Linked DNA regions of Homo sapiens: regions 1, 3, 4, 5 and 6 are each linked to region 2. The links are contacts of gene promoters, found by promoter capture Hi-C in blood cells and fetal thymus (Javierre and others, 2016). All regions are on one chromosome and are shown on one strand. Each heading gives the region's core, a stretch centred on a gene start or on the middle of the fragment in contact. The rest is flanking DNA. Distances are from core to core; before and after follow the strand shown.

The links. Contacts are between HindIII fragments. The CHiCAGO score rates a contact against its expected background, and 5 or more counts as called.
Region 1: a contact is called between a fragment that was not itself captured here and the fragment with the promoter of LINC02991 in region 2, in 3 of 17 cell types (M0 macrophages, M2 macrophages and fetal thymus). The highest score is 6.9, in M0 macrophages.
Region 3: a contact is called between a fragment that was not itself captured here and the fragment with the promoter of LINC02991 in region 2, in 1 of 17 cell types (M0 macrophages). The highest score is 6.4, in M0 macrophages.
Region 4: a fragment that was not itself captured here is called in contact with the fragment with the promoter of LINC02991 in region 2 in 4 of 17 cell types (M0 macrophages, M2 macrophages, M1 macrophages and 1 more); the score reaches 8.0 in M0 macrophages.
Region 5: a contact is called between a fragment that was not itself captured here and the fragment with the promoter of LINC02991 in region 2, in 2 of 17 cell types (M0 macrophages and neutrophils). The highest score is 7.9, in M0 macrophages.
Region 6: a contact is called between a fragment that was not itself captured here and the fragment with the promoter of LINC02991 in region 2, in 1 of 17 cell types (neutrophils). The highest score is 6.2, in neutrophils.

The regions. Positions count from the first base shown.
Region 1 is chr2:239,847,343-239,850,665 of GRCh38, reverse strand. No RefSeq gene overlaps it. Among named protein-coding and RNA genes, the nearest start is that of MIR4786, 94 kb to the left of the region's middle. The HindIII fragment of the contact is 209 bases long and covers 1,620-1,828 here.
Region 2 is chr2:239,576,826-239,580,347 of GRCh38, reverse strand. LINC02991 (long intergenic non-protein coding RNA 2991) reads right to left here and starts at 2,047. Exons shown (of 2, transcript NR_172921.1): 1 at 1,424-2,047. The HindIII fragment of the contact is 7,503 bases long and covers 1-3,522 here.
Region 3 is chr2:239,960,819-239,964,209 of GRCh38, reverse strand. NDUFA10 (NADH:ubiquinone oxidoreductase subunit A10) reads left to right here. Exons shown (of 10, transcript NM_004544.4): 10 at 3,024-3,391. The coding sequence ends at 3,092. Among named protein-coding and RNA genes, the nearest start is that of MIR4786, 19 kb to the right of the region's middle. The HindIII fragment of the contact is 1,357 bases long and covers 1,463-2,819 here.
Region 4 is chr2:239,889,172-239,892,515 of GRCh38, reverse strand. It overlaps a transcript of NDUFA10 not described here. Among named protein-coding and RNA genes, the nearest start is that of MIR4786, 52 kb to the left of the region's middle. The HindIII fragment of the contact is 3,479 bases long and covers 42-3,344 here.
Region 5 is chr2:239,979,017-239,982,548 of GRCh38, reverse strand. All of the region lies in intron 9 of NDUFA10 (NADH:ubiquinone oxidoreductase subunit A10), which reads left to right. Among named protein-coding and RNA genes, the nearest start is that of MIR4786, 38 kb to the right of the region's middle. The HindIII fragment of the contact is 527 bases long and covers 1,362-1,888 here.
Region 6 is chr2:239,316,403-239,319,735 of GRCh38, reverse strand. All of the region lies in intron 2 of HDAC4 (histone deacetylase 4), which reads left to right. Among named protein-coding and RNA genes, the nearest start is that of MIR4269, 13 kb to the right of the region's middle. The HindIII fragment of the contact is 5,835 bases long and covers 1-3,333 here.

The sequences.
Region 1 (3,323 bases), core at 475-2,974, 270 kb before region 2:
AGATTATTAAGAGATTTCTCAGCAGAAACCTTTCAGGGCAGGAGAGAATGAGATATTCATAGTGCTGAAAGAAAAAAAAAAAGCCTGTCAGACGAAATTACTATATCCAGCAAAGCTATCCTTTAGAAATGCAGGAGATGTAAAGACCTTAGACAAGCAAAAGCTGAGAGAATTTATTACCGCTAGACTGGTCTTACAAGAAATGCTTAAGACAGTGCTACAACTGGAAACAAAAGTGATAATTACCATTATGAAAAAATATGAAAGCATATAACTCACTGCTATAAATACATTCATAATCATACTCAGAATACCCCAGTGCTATAATGCGCTGGGTGCCATTATAAAGTTTTTTTTTAATTTTTTTTATTTCCATAGGTTTTTTTGGGAACAGATGGTGTTTACTTACATGAGTAAGTTCTTTAGTGGTGATTTGTGAGATTGTGGTGCACCTATCACCTGAGTGATACCATGAACCAAATTTGTAGTCATGTATCCCTCACCCCCTTCCCATCCTTTTCCCCTTAGTCCCTAAAGCCCACTGTATCATTCTTATGTCTTTGCATCCTCATGGTTTAGCTCCCACTTATGAGTGAGAACATATGATGCTTGGCTTTCTGTTCCTGATTCACTTCACTTAGAATAATAGTCTCCTGGGCTGGGTGTGGTGGCTTGTGCCTGTAATCCAAGCATTTTGGGAGGCCAAGGTGGATGGATCACCTAAGGTCAGGAGTTCGAGACCAACCTGGCCAATATGGTGAAACCCTGTCTCTACTGAAAATACAAAATTAGCCAGGTATGGTGGTGCATGCCTGTAATCCTCACTACTTGGGAGGCTGAGGCAGGAGAATTGCTTGAACCTAGGAGGTAAAGGTTGTAGTGAGTCAAGATCGTACCATTACACTCCAGCCTGGGCAACAAGAGTGAAACTCTGTCTCAAAAAAAAGAATAATAGTCTCCAGTCCCATCAAGATTGCTGCAAATGCCATTAATTCATTTCTTTCTATGGCTGAGTAGTATTCCATTGTGTATATGTACCACCACAGTTTCTTTATCCACTCATTGATTGATGGGCATTTGGGGTGGTTCCACATTTTTTGCAATTGCAAATTGTGCTGCTATAAACATGCATGTGCATGTATCTTTTTCTTATAATGACTTCTTTTCTTCTAGGTAGATAGTAGTGGAATGGCTGGATCAAATGGTAGGTCTACTTTTAGTTCTTTAGGGAATCTCAACATTGTTTTCCATAGTAGTTGTACTTGTTTACATTCCAACCAGCAGTGTAGAAGTGTTTTCTTTTCACTACATTCACACCAACATCTGTTATTTTTTTATTATGGGTGTTCTTGCAGAAGTAAGGTGGTATCACATTGTGGTTTTAATTTGCATTTTTCTGATCATTAGTGATGTTGAGCATTTTTTCATATGTTTGTTGGCCATTTGTATATATCCTTTTGGGAATTGTCTATTCATGCTCTTAGCCCATTTTTGATGTTTTCTTTTTTCTAATTTGTTTGAGTTCCTTGTAGATTCTGGTGCATTTAGGCCATTTACATTCAACATTAGTATTGAGATGTATTATTTCATTCATTGTGCTATTTGTTGCCTGTAAAGCTTAGGTTTTGTTTGTTTGTTTGTTTTCTGTATTTTATATGTCCTGTGAGAGTCATGCTTTAAAGAGGTTCTGTCTTCATGTGTTTCCAGGATTTGATTCAAGATTTAGAGCTCCTTTTAGCAGTTCTTGTAGTGCTAGCTTGTTAGGGGCGAATTCTCTTAGCATTTGTTTATCTGAAAAAGACCCTATCTTTCCTTCATCTATGAAGCTTTGTTTCTCTGGCTACAAAATTCTTGGCTGATAATTGTTTTGTTTAAGGAGGTTGAATATAAGGCCCCAATCCCTTCTAGCTTGTAGGATTTCTGCTGATAAATCTGCTGTTAATCTGATAGGTTTTCCTTTATAGGTTACCTGGTGTTTTTGCCTCCCAGCTCTTAAGATTCTTTCCTTCATCTTGACTATAGATAATCTGTTGACAATGTACCTAGGCAATGATCTTTTTGTGATGAATCTCCCAGGTGTTTTTTGAGCTTCTTGTATTTGGATGTCTTGGTCTCTAGCAAGACTGGGAAGTTTTCCTTGATTATTTCTCCAAATATGTTTTCCAAACTTTTAGATTTCTCTTTTTCCTCAGGAACACCAATTATTCTTGGGTTTGGTCATTTAACATAATCCTAAACTTCTTCAAGGCTTTGTTCATTTTTTAAATTCTTTTTTCTTTATCCTTGTTGGATTGGGTGAATTTTAAAACCTTGTATTTGAGCTCTGAAGTTCTTTCTTCTGCTTGTTCGATTCGATGGCTGAGACTTTGCAGAGAGTTTTGCATTTCTCTGTGTCCTTTATTTCCTGAAGTTGTGACTGTTTTTTATTTATGCTGTCTATTTCTCTGAATACTTCTCCCCTCATTTCTTGTATCATTTTTTTCCCCTTAAATTGGACTTCTCCTTTCTCTCATGTCTCCTCATTAGCTTAACAATCAACCTTCTCAATTCTTTTTCAGGTAAATCAGGGATTTCTTCTTGGTTTGGATCCATTGCTGGTGAGCTAGTGTGATTTTTTGGGGGGTGTTAAAGACCTTGTTTTGTCATATTACCAGAAGTGTTTTTCTGGTTCCTTCTCATTTGGATAGGCTATGTCACAGGGAGGATCTGGAGCTCCAGAAGGCTGCAGTTCAGATTCTCTTTTTTTTTTTTTTTTTGATGGAGCCTCGCTCTGTTGTCCAGGCTGGAGTGCAGTGGCATGATCTCAGCTCATTGCAAGCTCCACCTCCTGGGTCCATGCCATTCTCCTCCCTCGGCCTCCCAAGTAGCTGGGACTACAGGTACCCACCACTGCGCTCGGCTAATTTTTTGTATTTTTAGTAGAGACAGGGTTTCACTGTGTTAGCCAGGATGGTCTCGATCTCCTGACCTCATGATCCACCCTCCTTGGCCTCCCCAAGTGCTGGGATTACAGGCATGAGCCACCCCACCCGGCCAAGGCTGCTGTTCAGATTCTTTTGTCCCATGGGGTGTTTCCTTGATGTAGTGCTCTCCCCCTTTTTCCTAGGGATGTGGCTTCCTGAGAGACAAGCTGTAGTGATTGTTATCTCTCTTCTGGATCTAGCCACCCCGCAGGGCCACCAGGCTCCAAGCTGGTACCGGGGGTTGTCTGCACAGAGTCCTGTGATATGAACTATCTTTATATCTCTCAGCCATGGATACCTGAACCTGCTCCGGTAGAGGTGGCAGGGGAGTGAAATGGACTCTGTCCTTAGTTTTGGTTA
Region 2 (3,522 bases), core at 798-3,297:
CTCCGCCCCCTCATAAAGAGGCCCTGATTCCTTATCTGTGACATTTAGAAACTTCCACCCTCCTGTGAAGGAAGCCACTTTTTAGATCTCTAAAATACACAGATTCAGACTCTGCTTGGAGCTTCTGCAATGAACAAGTCCAGAACAAACTTGGGAGTTGCGCTCTGGGCATTACCCAGAACTGGGAGACAAAGCACAGACATTGAAGTCCCCCTGTGCACAGCCCTCCCAGGCTGGAGTGCAGAGAGCAGTGCAGGGCAGCTGGTCTGCTCTGCCTCCTGTCCTGACACGGCCACCTGCGTCCTGCACCTTCCTGGTTCTCTAAGGCACACAAGAGCAGCTGCCTCAGGGTGAAACCTCTGCCCACAGACCTAAAGGAGGAACTTTAGTAAAAGCAGCAAATAGGCCTTTCTCCACTGATAGGGTTTGGCTGTGTCCCCACCCAAATCTCACCTTGAATTGTAATAATCCCCAGATGTCAAGGGCGGAGCCAGGTGGAGATAATTGAATCATGGGGGCATTTTCCCCCATACTGTTCTCATGGTCGTGAGTTAGTTTCTTGAGATCTGATGGTTTTATAAAGGGGAGTTCCCCTCCACAAACGCTCTTGCCTGCCACCATGTAAGACGTGACTCTGCTCCTCATTCACTTTCTGCCATGATTGAGAGGCCTCCCCAGCCATGTGGTAATGTGAGCCCATTAAACCTCTTTCCTTTATAAATTACCCAGTCTTGGGTATGTTTTCATTAGTAGTGTGAAAACAGACTAATATACATCCACCTAGGGTTTAAAAGGCCTGTACAGCAGAGCCTTCATCCTCTTTAACCAAATGCTAGCCTTAGACACACCTGCCTCTGAAAAGAGGCCTCTGCACTGCTGGGCTCCATCTGGCTGCAGGGGCCCTGACAGGGTGGCCACCGGAGCAAGGTCACCAGGATAGGCATACGTCAGGGCTTCCTTAAGGCCCAGCCTGGCCCCTCGTCCCTCTGCAGAGGGCGGCACATCTTTGGTCAGTGCCTGCTGCACACTTCCTGCTTCCCTGGAATACCCCTCGCCTGTGGGCGAAGCCTTGATCAGCAAGGTTCAAGGTCAGGCATGGCATGGCCTGAGCTCAAGGTCTCATGCCCGGGCCACAGGGGTCCAGGCCTCACCCAGGAGAACCATTGCAGACCTCAAGGTCAAACGTGCTGTTTGGAATCTAAGCCGAAAGGCCCAAAGCCACACGTCGCGCCCAGTGAAGCCCTCTCACTGTGTGTTCTGCCCTCCTCACCCCATCACCTCTTATTTCTCAAAGTTCCTCACTCCAGGAACTGAGGGCCTTTGAGAGTGCTTAATACTAAGAGCACCTCTTCCCCATGCAGGTTCAGAACAAGTTGGACATGAGATAAAGAATAAAACACATAGAACTCAAATTATTACTTACTCCTAACAAATGCCAAGGTGAAAGTCTTAGCTTTGTGTGGGGGCCAAATAACCTTCTTAATTGAACCCAGAGTAAGAGCCTCTGACTCAGGGGTGCAGGGCTGGACCAGGGCAGACATCCTAGCACCAGCACACACGGTGGGGCAGGAACCCTCAAGGGAACAGCGTCTCTGCAATCGGACGGCATCCAAGAGAAGCAGGTACGATGGTGGATTCAGTGAAGCAGACGCCCTCGCAATGTGGATGGGCCTCATCCAACCCATTGAAGACCTGAGTAGAACACAAAGGTGGAGAGAGAACCCTCCCTCTGCCTGCCTGCTGGAGCTGGAACACTGACCTTCTCTTGCTCTCAGGCTGGAAGTGTGCTGTCGTCGGCGTGCCTGGTTCTCGGGCCTCCAGGCTCTGGCTAGGGCTGCAGCACAGACTCTCCTGCCTTTCCAGCTTGCAGACGACAGGGTGTAGGACCCCTCAGCCTCTGTAATCATGCGAGCCCATTCCATTTCTTATAGCAATGCATCTCTAACTCCATTTCTCTGGAGAACCTTGACTAATACGGGAGAGAAGGAGGAGGGTCTGGGCCTTACAAGGCCCTGGCTCCCGTCAGCACACAGCCCAAGACAGTGACGGGATTTAGCTCAAGGCCAGGGGTACTTAGGGAAAATCCCGATTTCTGGAAATCTGAGAAATTAGAGATTTATCCCCATTTTCTACCCCCAACTGCATCATGAAATAAACATTTCGTTTCTACAAACGGGAACTCTGAATTCCAAGGCCGCATCCACCCGCCCCTTGGTGGGTTGCTCGTGTGTCTGGCTGGGCGGTGGCACAGGGGGATTTCGCAAGGCCTCAAAGCCCAGGCTCCCAGCTCCGCTCCTCCTACCCTTCATAGCCCGAGTGCCTGTGCTGGGATTTCAGGGCCTTTCTCCTACCTCTGAGATCCTTTGTCACTTTTCCAAGGAGATGGAAGTCTGGAATGAGGTGAGCCATGTCTCCATGGAGCACACTTTGTAGATGGAAACTTCTTTCTCCAGTGAAGACTCTGAGATGGACCAGGAGGAGAGCATCATGACCCTCAAGGAGAAATTGGCAGAATCTATCTGTGTAGGTCACAGCCTTGGTCCAGGGACCTGAGGGAGCCTAGTGGCCCCTGGAGGCATCACCTGGAGGTTTTCATGTAAGTTAATGTGACTGGATGGGGGTGTGGCCCCTGGTCACCACCCAGCACAAGTGACACAGCCAGCGCGGAGACATCAGCTGCCTCTCTCCACGTCCCTTCAGGCCCATGTCACAGCTGCACTGGGGAAACTGAGGCAGCTTAGCAGCCTCCATGATGCTGGTGGAGCTGGAGGAGGCCTGACTCTTCCAGAGAACGCCCTGCAGAGCCACAGGGCATGTGTAGCATCTGGGCGGCACCTGGCTCTCTCCCTGCTCCCCTGGGACTTCCAGCGAGCTCTCTTCCTGCCTTCGGAGCCATCTCAGTGCTCACAGCTCACAGTGACATTGGGAGGGGTCCCTATGCCTGTGAAGTGTTGGCGGGAGGAGAAAAACATCTGTGTTTAGCATAGCATAAAAAATCTCATTTTACAGTAGAAAAGTCTATCCCATGACGCAGACACAACAAACATATAAAACCCGCTTCCTGCTGCAGCTTCAAGGAGGACAATCTGGAGCTCTCTTAGGCGACCTTCCAGGAATCCCTTGCTCATCCTTAAAAATAAATCTTTCCTGTTGCTTCCCCAGTCTCTACACCCAAACACCAATCTTAGTGGCCCAACAAAGATCTTGAAGTATATCTACATAGGTATTAGCAAAACTTTATTTAAACAAGATATTCAGTGGATAATCAGGCATCCTCACTTTACATGCATGAGGACCAGCATGTACACAAAATGGTGCATTTCCAACCCCTGCAGGACCAAAGTCAAGTTATGGACAAGGGGTGGCATGATGTAAGGCAGGCGGCTGAGCTTTGGACTTGGAGGTCAGAGACCTAAGATTTGGAGTAGACACATGGGGTAGCGCTGGCTGCCTTTGAGAAATGACGCTCTGGCCATTCTTGAGTTTGTATTTTCCTTCACCAACTTTCCCGGAAGCACGGAG
Region 3 (3,391 bases), core at 892-3,391, 380 kb before region 2:
CTCCTGCTGCAGAGGCCCTTTTGCCAGGTGAGCTCATGTGTTCACAGGTTCTGGAGGCTGGGCATCTTGAGATAGAGATCTCCACCACTTCTTGATGCAGAGACCCCGCCTACCAGCCCCCTGCACATGCATGGGCGTGCAGGCATAGACATACGTGCCATTACCTGGCGTGTGAAAGGTGGCCCAGGTGTTGTGTCCCCTTCCTCAGCTGCTGACTGCTTCCCCGCTAGTGTGGTCTTTTCCCACCCCGCTCCTCCTGTCTTCGTGCAGAGCTAGTGGCCATCTGGTGACCGTGACGCGAGGCCCCGTATGTCACGCGTGGTCACACCCAGCTCCTCCGGTGGCCTGTGTGCCTCACTCCTCAGTCCCTCTGCAGCCTCAGGCCTCAGCCATGCAGTGCTGCTCTTTGGCCTCTTCTCTTGTCCAGCACCCTGGATGGTCGGCTCACATGGCGCTGCCTCCCTCAGTTACTGGGAGGTGGCTGCACAGCCCTGTCTTCTAAGCCACAGACGCAGGTTTCCAACTGCCCACGGGTCATCTCTATGGGGCAACCCGCCATGTAGCCCCCACACCCTGCACATATTCTATAAGCAGACCGGACACTTACCTTCCCTGGGGCTGACCAGCTCTTTCTCTCTCTCACCCAGGCCTTCCTGACCCCGTCAGGCCCTTTGAGGCCAGCCCCAGGTGCCCGTCACTGCTCCCCGGTCTAGAAATAGCACCTACAGCCCGTCTGACACAGGTCACAACTTAGGCCAAAGGTCTTGTCAGACTGTGAAGCCAGAAAGTCACGTCCCTCTCTTGCGGTCTTCCTGCCACTTGTAGACACCTGTAGTTCGAGCAGCAGTGTTGGGGGATCCCCCTGGCCCTGGAGGGTCCCTCACTCTCCTGACGCCTCCCTGGACTCTGCCAGACTAGCTGCCTGCGCCCCCTCCTGGGATCCCACAATACCAAACCCCCTGGGCTGTCTTGGCATCACTGGCTGAATGACCTGGGCTTTCATCTCAGTCTCTCTTCAGATTTCAAACTCCTGAAGGAGCTGGGTTTTTCTTTTTTTGTGTGTGTCCCAGAATTCTCCTGGCACCCAAACAAAACCGTCTGTATCCACACTGTATCCTGGGCCAGAAAGCTGGAGGCTGGCTGTGCCACCCTCCCCCCCGCCTTTAGATGGGCATTGATGTAGTTAGGATGTCTGTCCCTCCAGATCTCATGTAGAAATCTGATCCCCTGTTGGAGGTGGGGTCTGGTGGGTGGTGTTTAGGTCATGGGAGTAGATCCTTCATGAATGGCTTGGTGCCCTCCTGGAGGTAATTAGTATGTTCTCACAGAGTGCGCGTCGACCTCTCATTTTAAAGTATATGGCAGCTCCCACCCCCTACCCGCCTCATGCTCTTGCTCTTGCTCCTACTCCCACTATGTGGCGTACCTGCCCCTGCTTTGCTTTCCACTATGATTGGAAGCTTCCTGAGGCCTTCCCAGAAGCAGATGCTGGCACCATGCTTCCCACACAGCCTGCAGAACCATGAGCCAATTAGACCTCTTTTCTCTCTGCATTTCTCAGCCCCGGGTATGTCTTTATAGCAGTGCAAGAATGAACTAACAGAGCACCGGCCCCTCCACTTCCAGGTCCCACTTCACAGCTGTGCACCTAGGAGAGGAGAGGCTTTCTGGGGAGGAGGAAGGGTGGCTCCTGGGCCTTGAAGATCCTAGAGCTTTGCCTGTCCTGTGTGTGAGATGGCTGGTCTTGGGGCGACCTGTCTGCTGCTTCATAGGATGCATTGTGTGTTCGTCTGTCACTGCGTGGCCACTGTGGCAGAGGCCAGGCAAGGCACATTTCAGTGATTTGTGATCCAGGCAGCCATGGCTGTGTGGATGGCTGTGAATGCCTGCTGCTGATTAGGATAAAGGAAAAGCTGATTCTTTTAAAAATGGTTTTAGTACCTGTTCTTAAGGGCAGAATTTGGAAGGGGTGTGTGTGTGTGTGTGTGTGTGTGTGTGTACACAAATTGACTGTGTGCCCATGCTGATTTGAAAATATGAAAAAACTCATCATTTTCCCACCTGCCATCGCTGGGCGACACACACCGTGCTGAGCGCTTTCTCCTGGCTCCGCAACGAGGTGGTCCTGCGGAGCAACACTCCTCTTTCCGTCTCAGCCAGCCCTGTGCTGGCCGCCTACCCTCATGAACAGGCGTCTTTGTGCTGGCAGGGGCTCTTGTTGCCCCCCAGATCTCCCTGTGCCCTGTGAGGTTGGCCTCTGTGGACCGCCACCTGAGCCCCTGATCTCTCCCAGATGGTGGGAGAAGTGGGGCCTGTAACATCCTTTCTGCAGCTCCATCACTGCCAAGCTCAGCCCCCCACTGGCCTCTCTGGCAGCATCCGCTCCTCCTGGGCTCTGTCGTCCTGTCGCTCCTGGATGTTCAGTGGCTCCCGCTAGGGTCAGTCCTGCAGTGCTTCCCCCTCCTTTGCTGGTTTTCCTGAACCCTGCCCATGTCTACTTAAAAGGCCTGGATGAAACTCACTTTCCTACTCCGCCAAGGGCCCCTTACAGCCAGCGGCCCGGCCTCTGCAGGCCCTCTTCAGAGGGAATTTCACGCGGGGCTTTTTCAGAGAGAACTCGGTGTTTCAGTTGGTGAACTGTGGTTCCTGGGTCCCAGCCCCACCCCTGTGTCTGCGTGGCTGTCCCTGCTCAGGGCCTCCCCTAAGTGCCACCCATTGCTCTCTGTCCCCCTCCTGTGGCTCTTGTCACCCTCCTGACATTAATGAGAACACTCAGTAGTTCGTTTCCATTTGTGGCTCCCAGCCCTAGGACAGAAGCTTCTGGCAGGCAGGGCTGGGTTGTGGTTTGTGTACCTGTGGCATCCTTGCACTCACAGGAGACACCTGCCACAGATCATGTGCTCACCAGCATTGCTGAAGGAACTCATGAAGTACAGGCATCTGCCGGGTAGACATTGAACTATGAGCTGGGGAAACATTCATTCACGTTAAACAGAATGCACCAATGCCTTTTTCCCCCACAGCTGCCGGGCCGCAAGTACAGCCCTGGGTACAACACCGAGGTGGGAGACAAGTGGATCTGGCTGAAGTGAACGGGCCGCCTTCTGCTCCAGCTGCATCACAGTGATGGCCAAGCTGCATCAGCCGCACTCTCCTGGACGCCATATAGCTTTAAGATCGGGGGAGGGTAAATAATGCAAAAATTGCACAGTGGAAGAAGGGGTCTCACAAAAAGCAATCCATCCTGTAGTATAGGTAATGGAGTTGGGGGAAGCAGCTTCCATTCTGGATGTTTGGAACCCTTTAGCTTTGTTTTGGAATGGCCCACCATTCTCACTGGAAAACAGTGGTCTGCTGTGAAAGGCCAGCTCTCGGCAGCCCCTGTGGTTTC
Region 4 (3,344 bases), core at 532-3,031, 310 kb before region 2:
CAAAAGTCCTCACCCATACGTCATCTTACAGCATTAAAGCTTCAGGCGACTTGGGTATGTTTTAAAAACAAAAACATAAGAATTGTTTTCTTCCTTCTAGCTACCAACTTACTCACAAACCCAGCACTCTATAAAATGTTGATTTCAGGTACTGTTAGAGAAAGGTGGTCGTTAGCAGAACTTAGCAGGGATGACTCAGGCCATGCACCCTGGGCACTGGGGAAGCATCATCCTGTGAAGGAATCCAGACATTCGAAGAATTTACAGAGAGAAAAATCGATGACGGGACTACAGCCATGCTGTCACGTATCTGAGCCACAGCAATTTTAGCAGAATTTCTAGAGACCATCTAGAAATTCTCCCTGCTTATCCTTTCACTCACCTGACCATCTGACATCCATCCTGGGCCACTAGGTCCTGCTGGTGTCTGAACCGGTCCAGCCTTGTTCGGAAGGCATTGATGCTTAGTGCTGGAGCACACAGGAAGGACTGTGAATGAGAAAACTATAGTCATGCATCACTTAATGACAAGAATATGTTCTGCAAAATGCATTGTTAGGCAATTTCATAATTATACAAACATCATAGAGTGTGCCTGCAGCTCCCCTAGGTGGTATAGCCTATTACACACCAAGGCTGCATGCTGGATGGAGCCTATTGCTCCTAAGCTGCAGACCTGTACAGCATGTGACTGTGCTGAATACTGCAGGCAACTGTGACACAATGCTAAGTATTTGTGTATCTAAACATATCTCAACATAGAAAAGGTGTAGTAAAAATGTAATATGACAATCTTATATGGAACTGCCACCGTATATGTGGTTCTCGTTGCCTAAAATGTCATCCTGCAGCACAGGACTGTACTTCTGTGGGTCAGCTTTACTCTGAAATGTCTGTGTCTTAACCTGTAATATTCAACCTGGACAGTGAAGAACTTAGTACAAGATATGGTGCATGTAGTTTTGTCCTGGCCAAACTTTGTTTTTCAGGTACACAGAGGCCATTGAGAATGTTGAATAATAACTGAAGTTATGCTTCCTGCGGAGATGGTACTAAGAAATGCTGTATTCCAACACTAATATTTGTGTATCATTGCAAGGGGGTCCTGGACCCTAAGCCAAGGACCCTGTTTTGATCAGTTTCTTCATGTGAGGGCTGACTGTGGGGCCACACATTGTGATGGATCAGGAATATCTTTTTTTTTTTTTTCTTTTGAGACAGTTTCACTCATTCAGGCTGGAGTGCAATGGCGGGATCTCGACTCACGGCAACCTCCGCCTCCCGGGTTCAAGCAATTCTCCTGCCTCAGTCTCCCCAGTAGCTGGGATTACAGGCACCCACCACCACGCCTGGTTAATTTTTGTATTTTTAGTAGAGATGGGATTTCACCACGTTGGCCAGGCCGATCTCAAACTCCTGACCTCAGGTGATCCACCTGCCTTGGCCTCTCAAAGTGCTGGGATTACAGGCATGAGCCACCATGCCTGGCCAGGAACTCTACTAAAAATACAAAAAATTAGCCAGGCGTGGTGGCAGGTGCCTGTGGTCCCAGCTACTCAGGAGGCTGAGGCAGGAGAATGGCATGAACGCGGGAGGTGGAGCTTGCAGTGAGCCGAGATCGCACCGCTGCACTCCAGCCTGGGTGACAGAACTAGACTCCGTCTCAAAAAAAAAAAAAAATTGTGTATTTATCTTATAAGCAACAATCAAACATGTGTTACTGCTTTTTTAAAATGTTAAATGAGAACTCAGCAAAACTTCTCCACTCTGAGGTGTTCCAGATCAACTCTGGAGTCTAAAAGCTCTGACCTAGAGAGACACCTTGAGTCAACAGAGACCGTAGGCGTCGCAGTGGGCTACAGAGGAGGCCAGGTGTCCTAAACAAACACATTTGCCAAGCCACCTGTTTGCTTGTGAGCACCAGGAGCAAGAGAGGAGCAGGGATACCCCAAAGTTCTGCTATGGCTTCATCCCTCTGCTTTATTTAAATGCAGTGGGGTTCGGCATGGCTGTTAAACACTAGGTGGTTTTAGAAGTAATGCAACATCCGCTTGTTCCTCCAAATCAGAGCTGTGATCCTGCTCGCCCACTGACTGTATTTCAGCTGCCCGGGTGTCAGCTTATCATCTTTTTCCGCAGCCTTGTCATCATTCTCAGTGAATTCCAACATCTCCTTTTTACCATGATTCACTGAAATCACAAGGCGCATGCTAGTTCTCAGTGTCAAATCCTCCATCTTCCACAGAAGTGCCCCTTTCTTCCATTCTTCTTATGCAAATGTAACATTCTCTTCCAGTTCATTTTTCTAACAGTAACGTTTGTTTAATTCACAAATTAATTCTTGTAGACATGGCTGTTGAATGACCCCGATTGGAAGTGACTTGTCTTGCTTTATGTCCTAAGACCATCTTTTTGGCCTCTATCCATCTGAAGGCAGCTGCATCAGGCCTTTCCTTTCGTATTCCGAATGGGAAGCTGCGGCCCCACTCTCTCCAGGCTGTCTGCGCCGCCCGCTCCCTGTTGGCTAGCACATTGGAGAGGGCAGCCAGGCCCAGGGCAGCTGTGACTGCAGCCGTCTTGCCCTCCCATCTGCTTCAGCAGAGCCCGTGCTGGCTTGGAACACAGGACGGACAGCTTCTCCTGGACCCTGGTTCCTGCCCCTGACCTTGGGATGTCACCATCAGCAAATCCCCAAAGGCTCAGATTGACAACTCCTATTAGGATTCCATCTGCTCATGCTTTAATGTTTTTGACCTGGGAGAGATGAAGGCTTGTTTTTCCTGTGTCCACTGTGGGGACATCAGTGGGGAGCTGGCCCCAGCCCAAGCCTGTGTTCTCCATTGCTATTATTTGCAAGTTAATATAATGATTTGAGCCAAAATAAACTCAAGACAAGCTGCAGAAATTCTGCAAGTTATCTAAGCAAGTGTGTGAGGTGCATCTGATCAAGCCCTTACTGAGAAGGGTGGGTGCCCAAATCCTGCCATTTCCCACTCCTGCTTGGGGAAGGAGCCCTTATGGGTCACTGTGGGGATGGAGTGGGACCGGGGGATTTCTGCCAGAGGCTGCTAATGGTGCGAGGGGTAGGGGCTCTGATTTGTCCTGCCAGAGTCCACCGGAGAAAGCTATACTTTCAGTGTTTGAGGCGCAGGATTCTGACCCTAAGGAAGGTGAGACAAGGCAGGAGTCAGGGTTGGGATCCTTCCAGCAGGCGTTCAGGGCCAGGCAGACACGTCCAGTGTGAGGCCAGGTCAGACATTACTGAGATTCCAGCCATCCAGTGGGTGGGTGAATGGGCTGTCTTTTAAATGGGTGTCCTGTGAAGCCAGGATCATCCAGCCTTT
Region 5 (3,532 bases), core at 376-2,875, 400 kb before region 2:
CAGAGCCCAAGGAGCCATCAGTCTCTGACACCTCAACTCGCAGAGGCCACCAGGCAAAGACAGTTGAAGTTGTTTTTAGTTGGGTCACAGTTAGAGGTTCTGAGGTTTAGCAAGAATTATTGTGATGTTTGAATTGCTAACAAAATTAAATGCTGTTTTCTATAATTACACGTTAGAAGAAACAGTAAATACAATCAAGACAAGAATCTTTTTAGAAAAGAGTTCAGGTTTTGCTTTATGAAAATTGCAAAAGACAAGTAACTAAAGAAAAGTAAAGTCGGCCTTTGTCAGAGGCGAGGTGAACAGAATTGTTTCGTCTAACCTTGTAGCTGGGGATCCCCTACCCGCAGCGGGCTGTGCAGAGTACAAGAGAGGGTCCTGAAGTGCTTCTCACTGGTCTTTGGAGGTGGGAAGACCTTCTCATCGGTCTTCAGGTACACGTGTCAGGTCACTGGTTTGCTGCAGGGGAGCAAACAGCATTTGAGGACATTCCACAGAACGTGTGACTATTAGAGCAGAAGGTAGTTGGCAGCCGGTTATTTCCTGGAGCAAGTGGAGGCCATGGATGCCTTTTCATGGCAGTGGTTCTTAGAAGCCCATTACCCTGCTAGGCAATTTCTCGCTTTCTGGGAGACTTTTTTTTTTTTAATGTTGAAAATATGTGTTTTAGCCAAATTCTGCCATTAACATGAGAATTTCTATAATCCCAATTAATTTTCTAAAAATAATAAAATTACTAAAACTATGCCTTATAATTTCATGAGAAACTTAAAATATACTTGCACTGTGCTTCTGTAAATAGGTGGTCTGTGTATTGTAACATGCCCAGGACGTTGCATGCATGTTTTATGATGGGTATTGTCCTTGTTGATACCTGGAGGTTAGGAGTTATTAGGTAGCACTTCTGATTCTTGGAAAACGAGTAATGCTTTGACCTTTATTCTTTAGATTAAGGATTATAGTCTTCGTTTTTCTTCCAGGATTTTCCTGATTTTTCTGACTTTAGTGTTTTTGTAGTTTTGTGAGATGGGTCTAGATTTGAATTTTTCTTTATGCCAGTGCTATTTGCATCTTGTTGGTAGGATCTTATTCCTTGTTGGTAATTCCCCCATTGCTTCTCTCTGTAGACATTTTAAACCTAGTTATTTTATGCTCTGTCTCTGGAGCGCTGCTCTGGACGCTGTCTGATCTTGTTCGTTGTTTCTTCTTTTTCTCACCCATGGTGGCTTCTTTTCTTGACTGTGTTGGAGACTTTGGGTACAGAGCTTCTGCCCTGTGGGGCTCCATCCATGGGCATTTGGTGAGAGTGGGTCCCTCCTGAGTCAGGTTGCCAGATGAAGTACAGGATGCCAAGGTAAGCTTGAACTGAGAGCAGCTAGTATTTTAGTATAAGTATGTCCCAAGGTTTTTAACCGGGTATCCTATATGATTTCTCAGTCCTGGCAGCCCTACTCCTGAAAGGACCCTTTGCTGCTGCCAGGCCTCAGATTCCTGAGGAGCAGGGAGGGATTGATGGCACCTTTGTTGCTTGTGGTATTCCAGGCCCTGGAGGTAATGCAAATTTCAACCCTCGAACCTGTGTGGAGAGAAGCTCTGGTTACGAATTCCCAGTGGAGAATGGTTTCACCACTGGGTGCCAGCTGGGGTCTCCTTGCTGGCAGGAGGCCTTCTCCCCGCACTGAGGTGTGGCCCTTCAGGAGTCACCTCACAGGGACACCAGGCCGTGTCTTGTGGCTCTCTGCAGCTCTTGGGCGTCCCGAGGGCACCGCGGCTTCAGCTCACCACTCTGGCTTTTCCACTCACTCTTCCTTCTTAGCCCTTTGTGATTTCTTGCGGAGCTCAGCTGTACATGTAGAAGCATTTCCAGAGGTTTTTATATCAAGAAGCTTTTCTGCATATTAGGGCTGCTGTTTTGCTAGAAATGGAAGGCTCCCCTATTTTTCTTTATAACTGGAAACCCTGTTTTGGTGCTGGTTCTTTCTGTAGCCATTCTGTGGAGGACCTGTCTGAATTAGAAAGTCTACATTTTATATACTCAATAGGTATTTACCCAATGAACAGTCCCCCAGAATGCAGAATTGATTAAATCCCCAACCCCGAAGGCACAGAAGGGAAACCTGGCTGATCAAAGAATTCTTGCCTTTTAATTTAATCTGAGTTCTATCCCAGAGATAGAGTCAGGCATCTTGGGAGTGCTAAGGTAGTAGGAATGACAGTTTATCCCAATACCTGCTGCCAAGCCTGACATTTCAGACCCCCTGCCCGACAGTGTCATCCCAGTGTCCTACCACTTCTGCACTTAGCCCTGATTAGATCTTTATCGTGCCAGGCACTGTTGTAAGCATTGGGGCCACACCCGAGAGTGAAGCCAAGCCCTGCCCTCATGCAGCTCACCTCCTAGTGGGCAGGGAGAACAGATGATAGACAGGTAACAGGGTGCCAGGGTCTTGGAGAAAGCACAGCGAGGAGGCTGCCATGTGGAGAGAGGTCTCAGGCACCTGACGCAGGGGACTGAGGGATGTGGGGGTGTAGGGGAGCAGGCGCCACAGGGGAGTGAGGGATGTGGGGGTGTAGGGGAGCAGGCACCCCCCGGAAGGCAGGAACAGGTGGACATGGTCTGGAGCTAGAGAAGAGCCCGTCATGGTGAGGTGTGATGCGGGTGGGGTGAGCTTGAGCAGGGAGTGAGCTGAAAAGGCAGCAGGCCAAGGTCAGCCGGGGTCCGCAGCTGCCACGGGGACCTCAGTTCAGCGGTACTCCTGGTGAGGTGGTGGCGTTGGTGCGCCAGAGAGTGGCATCATCTGGGTCTCAGGTTTAAAGGGTTGCTCTGCTTGCCACGTCGAGTATCAACTGTGGGGGCAAAGGCAGAGGGCCAAGGCGGTCAGGGAGGGTCCTGGTGGTGCAGGTGAGAGTGCTGGTGCTATGGGCGGGGGCGCTGAGAGTAGGCACTGTCTCTTTTCCCGAGAGCCCCCACTTAACAGGGGCATTGTTGCCCCTCCTTGCCCAGCCAAGTTGCTTCTTGCTTTTTAGGTTTTCAAAATTAAGCAGACTATTGCTGAAGGATTCCAGCAGAGGGAGTCAGGGAAGAGGTGCAGGGTGGGGAGCGGGCTGCTGAGGGCCTGGTGGTGGCCTTTCCTCACCGGACGGTGGAGCCCTGGGCCTCTGCTGTGTTGCCTCTCCTGCAGAGTTGTGTGTGTGACTGGAGGAGAGGGGTGGAGCCAGTTCAGCCAGCACTGGGGTCTAACTATAAAGCACAATAGAGACAGGTAGTGGCAGCTGGGTGGGGTGGGCTGTGGGGTGGGGTTCTAAGATAGGAATTTGCCGTTTGTAACAAAGGAACTTTGGTGTAAAGGCTTTAATTTAGGAATCCCAGGCATACTTCCTCATGGATCTTTTCCTGACCCTTATGTTTAATTTAATTTACTGATGGATGGATGAGCCCAGAAAGGGTTACACAGGAGCACACTTCTCAGGGAGTGGTGTGACGCTGGGGAGGCTCGCCCACCCTGTGTCTGAGCTAATTTCTGAAATCTGT
Region 6 (3,333 bases), core at 242-2,741, 260 kb after region 2:
ACTGGTGTTCATTAGTGTCTTGCATTCAATTTTGTGAATTTTCACAACTTTGATTCATGTTCAGATGTGGCTGCTCTCAAACATGATGTTGTGGACATTCTTTTGTGTGTTTTCTGACACACGCAAACTTGGGTCTTTGCCAGGTTCCTGCCTGGGAATGGGAGTGCCGGGTCACGGGTAAGCTACTTTTAACTCTGCGTGACCTCCAGCACGGCCACACCGTCTTAGACCTAGTGCCAGTGTCTTCAGGCTGACCAGGGCGCCTTGCTCGGTCCCGGGAGGTGGCCCTCGCCTGGCCTGTGCCTGACCGCCAGCCTGCTGTGGCTGTCAGTGTCTTCTGACATGGGTCACCCATTTTTATGTTTGTTGTTGGTTTCGTTTTCTTAATCATTTGCAGAATTGAAATATCTGGGTGTGTGTGGCTTCCTTCCAGCAGCTAACGGGAGGCTGCGGCCGTGTGCTGCCTTCATTGTCACAGCTTCCTATGGCCACTGCTCCTTAAAGTTTCCTATATGTGGATATTACTTGCTTGCTGTTTCTTGTTGAATATCAGATATTCTGGTTTTTTGCTCTTACTTTTCTTCTGGAAGTAATATCCTTTGGAAGTAATATCCTTTAGAAATTCCTGCAGAAGTTCCGTTTTTTGTTCGTCTGAGAGTTGCCTCCTTTTCCTTCATTGTTGAATGATCCCTCACAGAAGACAGTGCTGGGGAGGCAGCTGCTCTTCCCCAGGGCTCTGAGGATGTGATTGGTTCACTCAGTTCCACTGGGGCTGTTCCGTTCCTTGGCAGGAATCCGTTGTGTCTCTCTAGGTGTTTTGTAGTCTTAGTGTTCTACATTTTTGTAAGCGTTTTCACTTACCCCTGTTGATATTTTTTTGGACTTCCTGAATCTGAAGATTAGTGTCTTCCAATAATAATGGGGAATTTTATTCCTTAACTTTTTTCTTTTTAACTTTTAATTTTGCTGTAATTTCAAACTTACAGAAAATCAGCAAAAAATAGTCCAAAGAATTACTGTTTATTGATATGCATCCTTTTTTTTTTTTTCAGAATCGTTTGAAAGTTAGTGTTAGATGTGATGCCTTCCCCCAACTAATAATCCAGGCCATGTTGCCTCAGATAAGCGTGGTCACTCTTCAACTACGGTCAGTGAGTAGAGTTGGAAAATAACAGCGAGCAGGCATTGTTCTCTCATCTGTAGGCCTTGTTTATGTTTCGCTGATAGTCTAGTGATGTCTCGTTATCAACAGCAGATGACAGGCCCTGCAGGGCCTTCAATTCTCACGTCCTCCCCAGTCCCCTTTGCTCCGGGACAGTCTCCTCGTCATTTTTATGTTTCGTGACATTCACATTTTGGAAGCGTAGGGGCAGCTATTTTGTAAAATGTTTTTCAGCTTGGGATTTCGGCATGTTTCCTCGTGATTGGATTCCAGTGATGCCGCTGGGCTTGGCGGCCACCGCAGTATTTCGTTGCTGCTGATGCTGCCCGGAAGCTCTCAGTGAAGGTGATGCTGGCGGGTGTTTCCACTGTGAAGTTACATTGTTTCCTGCATAATTAGCAGGTATCTGGTAGGGAGATAATCTGGGACTGTGCAGACAGCCTGCTACTCCCCGAGCACTGACCCACAAGTCTCAGCATCATTGATGGTTCTTTGTCGGAGTCTGTTGTTGTCGTGGTGGTGGCTACTGGTCATCTAGTGTCACCGTTCTTGCTACATTCAGGACGGGAAGCCCTCATTAACCTCAGGAGGTTCTTGGAAACTGACTTTTAAGTGAAATGGTCATCTAGTGTCACCGTTCTTGCTACATTCAGGACGGGAAGCCCTCATTAACCTCAGGAGGTTCTTGGAAACTGACTTTTAAGTGAAATAATACAGAATAAAACCAAGGTTATTTTTCTCACCAGTGCACCAGTGTTATAGTCAAACGACTGGCATTGCTTGAGGACCCTCTGTCGTTGGCTTAAAGTTGCGGTTTCCAAGAACCTGTGGACAACGTGAAATGTGGACTCCTGTAGTTAACTTTCTCCTGTAAAGAGCTTTCCTTTCCTCCTTATTTATGTGTTTCCTTATTGTTTACTTATATTAGTTTGAACTCATAGATTCCTAATTTATTAACTGGGTTATAACCTTTTATTATCAATATCTATTCTGCTGCCCAAATTGTTCCAGTTTGGCCAATGAGAGCCCCTTCATGCTGGCGTTTCTGGCAGGTCCCTCCCGTTTTGGGACCCTTCTTTACTCTCTTGGATACACAAAATGTCCTAATCTCGCCTGTACTTACCCTGTCCTGGCCTGGAATCAGCTTTTTCTCAAGGCGGCCTGGTTCCTTTCTCGGGGAATGCTATTTAGAAACCAGCTCTCGGCCGCCAGAGCTGTGAATAGATGTGTGTAGATCGGCCCCTGCACCCACACACGCCGGCCCCACCCACACACATGGCAGTTCACTTCCAGCCCAGCCTCACAAAGGCCACCGGCTGGCCTTCTCCTTTCACATTTGTTACTCCCTCTGCTGACAAGGAGACGTGGAGCTCTCAGAATCCATCATGTACTTACTTATTTGTTCAGTCTCAATCCCAGAATACTCAGAGATTATTAACCTATGCCTCTGTGAAAAAGAAACCCCCAACTAGAGTCCAGCAGTCGCTGAAGGCGTATGGTCCAGATACCGGGTCTAAAAGCCACTTTGGCAAGCTCTTACGCACACCCCACCCTGCCCCAGCGTGGTTGTTACTCATCTGAAATGGGGTTTGGTTATTTGTTTCTGTTTGTATTTCAGTTTAGAATTTTTCCCCCTGTGTACTTTTTGATTGTATTAATTTTCACTTTTTGATGATGTGAAACCCAATTGCAGCTTCAAAAGCCAGAACTGTGTAGCAGCCAGACTCAGAGAAGCGGGTCCCCTACCCCTGCTGTCCCCTGTCCTTTCCACCCTGTCCCCATGAGCTACCCTTTCTTTCCTGGGTGGCCTTGTGTGCTTTCATTTGCCCACTTTCTTGCACGGAAAGAATGTCCTACAGGGAACTCCTCTTCCCTAGCAGTATGTCCTGGAAACCACGCCACGTCTGTCCACAGGCTCCTGCTCATTCCTGTGGACAGCCATACACTCTGCAATTCATCCAGCCGCTCTCTTACCTAGGGCCCATTGGTATACTGTACAGGGTAGTGGTAGAATCACAGCTCACTACAGCCTCCACCTCGTGGGCTCAAGCAGTTCTCCTGCCTCAGCCTCCCAAGTAGCTGGGACTACAGGCCCGTGCTACCATGCCTAGGTAATTTTTTTATCTTTAATTTTTTTGTAGAGATGGGGTCTTGCTGTGTTGCTCAGGCTG